2 separate regions of the Homo sapiens genome follow, and region 1 is linked to region 2. The links are contacts of gene promoters, found by promoter capture Hi-C in blood cells and fetal thymus (Javierre and others, 2016). All regions are on one chromosome and are shown on one strand. Each heading gives the region's core, a stretch centred on a gene start or on the middle of the fragment in contact. The rest is flanking DNA. Distances are from core to core; before and after follow the strand shown. Region 1 holds the start of LOC124905198 (a long non-coding RNA gene). Region 2 holds the start of CXorf65 (chromosome X open reading frame 65).

Region 1 (3,720 bases), core at 891-3,390, 240 kb before region 2:
CAGGCAAGCCTAGTGATCCATCAACTTACACCACAAGCCCGTTTGACACTTCACACACATCCTTCTCCACCAAGGGTAGTTGATTCCGGGGCTTCACATGGACGTGTGAGGCTGGGACAGAGAGGTACCCTCCATCAGATTCACATACAGGAAAGCTGGCTCAGTCTCCCTGACGTACACACACCTCACCCCATCCTCAAATCCCTTCCATCCAGGGAGTGGCTCATAAGACAACCGTCTCTAAAACAAGCTCCTGGGGGATAGGGAGACTCGGAGAGAGAAGATCGCAGTTAGGGATTGGCTCGGGGGTTCTCAATCCGATCGTTCTCCAGAGCCATTCGAACGCCAGAGCCTCCCGGGCGTCTTGAGTTGGGCTGGGCAGGTTCTGCGAACTGCGACCAAGTCCCACTCCGCTGTCGGACACAGTCTCCACTCGATGCCTGAAACCTCCTGGGAAGTGAAGTTCTAGGGCCAGCCTCACTGTAAGTCACAGGCTTCTACACTACATCTTCAGGTAATCGAGGACTACTTAGATCGCGACCTCAGTACGAGTTACTCAGCCCAGGAACCCCCAAACCTCATCTTTCCCTTGGCAAAGTGAGACCACCCCGTGTTCCCCAGATCCCCAAGTCCTATTTTCTCCTTTGGACTAATATGAACTTAAAGAGACACGGACATGAGAAAGTATTTGAGAGAAAAAAAAAAAGTAAGTAAAGACAATGAGGTAAAAAAAAAAAATTTGGGTGGGCGCGATGGCTCACGCCTGTAATCTCAGCACTTTGGGAGGCCGAGGTGGCGATGGGGGGAGGGGGAGGGGATCAACTGAGGTCAGGAGTTCGAGACCAGCCTGACCAACATGATGAAACCCCATCTCTACTAAAAATACAAAAATTAGCCGGGTATAGTGGCATGCGCCTATAATCCCAGCTGCTCGGGAGGCTGAGGCAGGAGAATCGCTTGAACTCGGGAGGCCGAGGTTGCAGTGAGCCAAGATCATGCCATTGCACTCCAGCCTGGGTGACAAGAGCAAAACTCCATCTCAAAAAAAAAAAAAAAAAAAAAGGCCAGGTGCGGTGGCTCACGCCTGTAATCCCAACACTTTGGGAGACAGAGGTGCGATGACCTGAGGTCAGGAGTTCGAGACCAGCCTGACCAACATGGTGAAACCCCATCTGTACTAAAAATACAAAATTAGCCAGGCGTGGCGGTGCATGCCTGTAATCCCAGCTACTCAGGAGACTGAGGCACGCGAATCACTTGAACTTGCAATGAGCCAAAATCGCACCATTGCGCTCCAGCTTGGGCAACAAGAACGAAACTCTGTCTCAACAAACAAACCAAAAAATAATTTTTTTTAATAAAATAATTCTTAAAAAGATAAACAAAAACACAAACCGAGTGTGGTGGTGCCCGCCTGTAGTCCCAGCTACTCTGGAGGCTGAGTGGGAGAGGATCGCTTGAGCCCAGGAGTTCAAGTCCAGCCTAGGCAACATCGCGAGAGCCCAGTCTCCAAAACAAATATAATCTTAAAAAAAAAAAAAGACAATGAGGTAGTGCGAGAATTACAGTTCCTTTCTATCAGTGTACATTAGTTTGAATTTCCAAGAGTTTTATATAAATGGAATCGTACAGCTTTACTGAGATATAAATTCATACACCATTTAAAATTTACAATTCAGTGGTTTTTGGTATATTACATTTTTAATTTTTATTTATTGTTTTTATAATTTTAAAATAAATTTAAAATTTTTAATTAATTTTATTTCTTTATTCATTTATTTTTTGAGACAGAATCTCACTCTGTCCCTAGGCTGGAGTGCAGTGATATGACCACAGCTCACCCCAGCCTCCACCTCCTGGGCTCAGGTGATCCTCCCACCACAGCCTCTCCACTACAGGCGAGCACCACCATGCCCAGCTAATTTTTGTATTTTTTGTAGAGACAGGGTTTCACCATGTTGCCCAGGCTGGTCTCGAACTCTTGGGCTCAAGTGATCTGCCCACCTCAGCCTCCCAAAGTGTTAGAATTATGCATGCGGCCTGTGTCTTTGCTGTTTTGTTTTGTTATGTTTTGTTTTGTTTTGTTGAGACAGAGTCTCGCTCTGTTATCCAGGCTGGAGTGCAGTGGTGCAATCTCGGCTCACTGCAACCTCCACCTCCCGGGTTCAAGCGATTCTCCTGCCTCAGCCTCCTAAGTAGCTGAGACTACAGGCACGCGCCACCACACCTGGCTAATGTTTGTATTTTTAGTAGAGAGGGGGCTTCGCCATGTTGGCCAGGTTGGTCTCAAATTCCTGACCTCAGGTGATCTGCTCTTCTCGGCCTCCCAAAGTGCTAGGATTACAGGCGTGAGCCACCGTGCCCAGCCACCTGTCTAGTTTTACTTTTTGCAGAGACAGGTCTCTGTGTTGCCCAGGCTGGTCTTGAACTCCTGGGCTCAAGCAATACACCTGCCTTCAGCTCCCAAAGTGCTGAAATTATAGGTGTGAACCACTGCACCTGGCAAATCTTGCTTTTCTACCCAATCTGATCATCTCTACCCTGTAATTAGGGTGTTAAGAACATCTAAGTTTAATGATTGTTAATATAATTAGATTTGGGTCTATCATCTTGTTTTTATTCGTCCCATCTCTTTGTTCTCTTTTTCTGACTTCTTTTGGATTAGTCAATATTACTTTTATTCCATTATATCTCCTATATTGGGTTATTAGCTATTCCTCCTTGTTTTAGTGGTTGCTTACAGGTTTATAGAGACATTTTTAACCTATCTCCATCTACCTTCAAATATTATACTATTTCACAGAGAGTGTAACAGCCTTACATTAATAGGCCAGGTGCGGTTGCTCACGCCTGTAATCTCAGCACACTGGTAGGCTGAGGCAGGCAGATCATCTGAGGTCAGGAGTGCGAGACCAGCCTGGCCAACATGGCAAAACCCCATCTCTACTAAAAATACAAAAATTGGCCAGGTGTGGTGGTGCATGCCTGTAGTCCCAGCTACTCGGGAGGCTGGGGCAGGAGAATCGCTTGAACCTGGGAGGTGGAGATTACAGTGAGCCGAGATCATGCCACTGCACTCCAGCCTGGGCAATAGAGCGAGACTCCCTCAAAAAAAAAACAAACCTTACATTAATATATTTCCAGGTTGGGCACAGTGGCCCATGCCTAATAATTCCAGCACTTTGCAAGGCTGAAGTGGGCAGATTGCATGAGCTCAGGAGTTTGAGACTAGCCTGGGCAACACGATGAAACCCTGTTTCTACCAAAAATAGACTTTATTTTTTAGAGCAATTTTAAGTTCACAGTAAAATCAAGTGGAAAGTACAGAGAGTTCCCATATATTCCGTGCTGCACCCCACAACCTCCCCTACTATCAAACTCTAGCATCAGAATGGAAAAAGAGAACAAAGAACAGTGTGCTATTGTTGAGCTGACTGGGCATGGTGGCTCATGCCTGTAATCCCAGCACTTTTAGAAGCCGAGGTGGGTGGATCACTTGAGGTCAGGAGTTCAAGACTAGCCTGGCCAACATGGTGTAAACCCTGTCTCCATTAAAAATACAAAAATTAGCCGGGCATGGTGGCACGCACCTGTAATCCCAGCTACTCGGGAGGCTAAGGCACGAGAATCGCTTGAACCCAGGAGTTGGAGGTTGCAGTGAGCCAAGATCATGCCACTGCACTCCAGCCTGGGTGACAGAGTGAGACTCCATCGGAAAAA
Region 2 (3,234 bases), core at 10-2,509:
GTACTCCTTTGGCACAGAGCTCGGTCTTTTACTTCCTGCCCCTAATTGACCCCTGACCTGGACATATCTGTCTTTAGGCCTGGAGTGGTGTGTCTAAGGGACTGGCTGAGAGTCTGCAGCCAGACTACAGTGAACGACTCTGCCTCGTCAGTGAGATTCCCCCAAAAGGAGGGGCCCTTGGGGAGGGGCCTGGGGCCTCCCCATGCAACCAGCATAGCCCCTACTGGGCCCCCCCATGTTACACCCTAAAGCCTGAAACCTGAACCCCAATCCTCTGACAGAAGAACCCCAGGGTCCTGTAGCCCTAAGTGGTACTAACTTTCCTTCATTCAACCCACCTGCGTCTCATACTCACCTCACCCCACTGTGGCTGATTTGGAATTTTGTGCCCCCATGTAAGCACCCCTTCATTTGGCATTCCCCACTTGAGAATTACCCTTTTGCCCCGAACATGTTTTTCTTCTCCCTCAGTCTGGCCCTTCCTTTTCGCAGGATTCTTCCTCCCTCCCTCTTTCCCTCCCTTCCTCTTTCCATCTACCCTCCGATTGTTCCTGAACCGATGAGAAATAAAGTTTCTGTTGATAATCATCAAAAATGTCTGTCATGGGGGTGGGGAGCAGGGGAAGCCTGGGATGCAATGAGGGTGGGAGGGGAAGAAAAAGGAGTAGTACATTCATGCTGTGGAGGCAGGAGTATTACCAATTTGCTAGAAAGAGTACTGTTCTGGAAACTGACTTTTTTCCAGGTGCCCTGCACTCATTCCAGGGTTTAGTTTAGAGTTAGACTTACAATGGGCTGGGCGTGGTGGCTCACGCCTGTAATCCCAGCACTTTGGGAGGCCAAAGCGGGTGGATCACGAGGTCAGGAGATCGAGACCAGCCTGGCCAACATGGTGAAACCCCGTCTCTACTAAAAATACAAAAATTAGCCAGGCGTGATGGTGTGCTCCTGTAATTCCAGCTACTTGGGAGGCTGAGGCAGGAGAATCGCTTGAACCCAGGAGGTAGAGGATGCAGTGAGCCAAGATTGTGCCACTGCACTCCAGCCTGGGCGACAGAGGGAGACTCCATCTAAAAAAATAAAAAAAATAAAAAAAGTTAGACTTACCATGTTGTCCCCCCTTTCCAACTAATCTTTAACATACCCCACCCAAGTTTTTCTCTCCTTACCCTTACTCCACTTTTTGGCCACACCTGCCACTTCTGACCTCATAATCCCTTAACTGCAGTCTCAGGCCCCACCCCTGGGGATACTGGTTATCCACAACTATCAACAGCTCTCTCCTGCCTGTCCAGCCTGGGCATCCTCAGCCTATGAAATCCATCTGCCTCTCTAGTCCACCAACCCTATAGGCCTATTTGCCCCACACAAGGCCTCTAGAACACCCTCCTTCTGCATGACTCATCAGGGCACTTTGTGAAGAGTGAGGCGATCTTGAGGGCATGTTCATCTTCATCAAACATGGAGGTGAGGGGCAGCACAGAACTAGAGTCTGTGGATGGGGGTGGAGGGATCTGAGGGCAGTGGAGATCACAGAAATGGGCCCATGTGTCCCATCCTATCTCTTCTCAGATAATCAGCAGTTTCTGGTCAATACCAACTGTGCTGTCGTCGTGTTGCTGTATTACATCCGCAGTAAAGTAAAGTTGCCTAAAACAAGTGAGGAGCTTAGGGAGGGGACTAATGGCCAAAGGTCAGAAGGAGTTGGGTCATCTCTAACCCCCAAGCCCTCCTCCTGGCAAGAAGGGAGTTCCTCATATCCTTAGAGCTTCCTCCAACCCATTTTGTATAGGATCACTGGCCCCTTTTGCTCCCACTCTCTTTCCTTAGCTGCCCCAATTACCCTGTGATCTCCCTCCAGACACCATCGATTTGTGTGAACAAACGGGGAAAATGAAGATGCTTTTCCTGATGAAGCCCAATCATGCAGAGTATGCCAGCAAATACCTTACAGCTCGAAGCACCTACTACGTTTGTAAGGTGGAACGTGGGCCACCAGGTAGAGGCTCAGGAGTGTTCCCCAGAAATAGAATAAGGCCTTCAAGATAGATTATGAACCTTATCTTTAAAACAAGGCATCCAAGGCTGGGCATAGTGGCTCATGCTTGTAATCTCAGCACTTTGAGAGGCCAAGGCGGGAGAATCGATAGAGGGCAGGAGTTTGAGACCAGCCTGGGCAACATAACAAGAGCCTGCCTCCAAAACCAAAACCAAAACCAAAAACAACCAAAACCAAATTAAAACAAAAAACAGAACACCCTCAAACAACAGAACACCCTCAACCAGATCCAAATTGACCATCTCTAGTCAGCCTAAGGAAGGGTACTGCCTCTATAATAATAGGTTACCTCACACATACTCTCCCCTAGGTCCATACCTAAGGGGAAGAAATATCCACCAGCTCAAGGTAGGTTTTTTTTTTTTTTTTTTTGGGACAGAGTTTCGCTCTTGTTGTCCAGTTGTCCAGGCTGGAGTGCAATGGCGCGATCTCAGCTCACTGCAACCTCTGCCTCCCAGGTTCAAGCGATTCTCCTGTCTTAGCCTCCTGAGTAGCTGGGACTACAGGCACCCGCCACCAGGCCCAACTAATTTTTTAGTGCAGATGGGGTTTCACCATGTTGGCCAAGCTGGTCTTGAACTCCTGACCTCAGGTGATCCACCCACCTCAGCCTCCCAAAGTGCTGGGATTACAGGCGTGAGCCACTGTGCCCGGCAAGGTAGTCTTTATTTTTATTTATTTATTTATTTTATTTTTTGTGATGGAGTCTTGCTCTGTCACCCAGGCTGAAACAGTGGCATGATCTTGGCTCACTGCAACCTCTGCCTCCTGGGTTCAAGTGATTCTCCTGCCTCAGCCTCCGGAGTAGCTGGGATTACAGGCGCCCACCACCATGCCCAGCTAATTTTTTTTGTTTGTTTGTATTTTTGGTAGAGATGGGGTTTCACCAAATTGGCCAGGCTAGTCTCGAATTGGCCAGGCTAGTCTGGAACTCCTGACCTCAAGTGATCCGCCCACCTTGGCCTCCCAAAATGCTGGGATTACAGGCGTGAGCCACCGCATCTGGCGGGTAGTCTTTAGTGTTAGGTCCTGGAATCTTGGACTTCTGAAGGGTGGAGACTGGATGACAGGGGCTGGAGATAGCACATGGCTATGTTCACAGGAACCAGGCTGGAGAATGCTTACAGAGCTTTTGTGCCTCTCCTCAAGAATCCGGAGCCTTGGCTGCTTGGTAA

What was found. The method cuts DNA at HindIII sites, captures the fragments that hold promoters and counts their contacts. A CHiCAGO score of 5 or more calls a contact.
Region 1: a fragment that was not itself captured here is called in contact with the fragment with the promoter of CXorf65 in region 2 in 2 of 17 cell types (naive CD4 T cells and M2 macrophages); the score reaches 5.7 in naive CD4 T cells.

What each region holds. Positions count from the first base shown.
Region 1 is chrX:71,344,979-71,348,698 of GRCh38, reverse strand. It overlaps LOC124905198 (a long non-coding RNA gene), which reads right to left and starts at 735. Exons shown (of 3, transcript XR_007068263.1): 1 at 30-735. The HindIII fragment of the contact is 5,105 bases long and covers 1-3,720 here.
Region 2 is chrX:71,104,765-71,107,998 of GRCh38, reverse strand. CXorf65 (chromosome X open reading frame 65) reads left to right here and starts at 1,259. Exons shown (of 6, transcript NM_001025265.3): 1 at 1,259-1,467; 2 at 1,573-1,659; 3 at 1,862-1,999; 4 at 3,162-3,230. The coding sequence starts at 1,443. IL2RG (interleukin 2 receptor subunit gamma) reads left to right here. Exons shown (of 8, transcript NM_000206.3): 8 at 78-595. The coding sequence ends at 263. The HindIII fragment of the contact is 6,290 bases long and covers 1-3,234 here.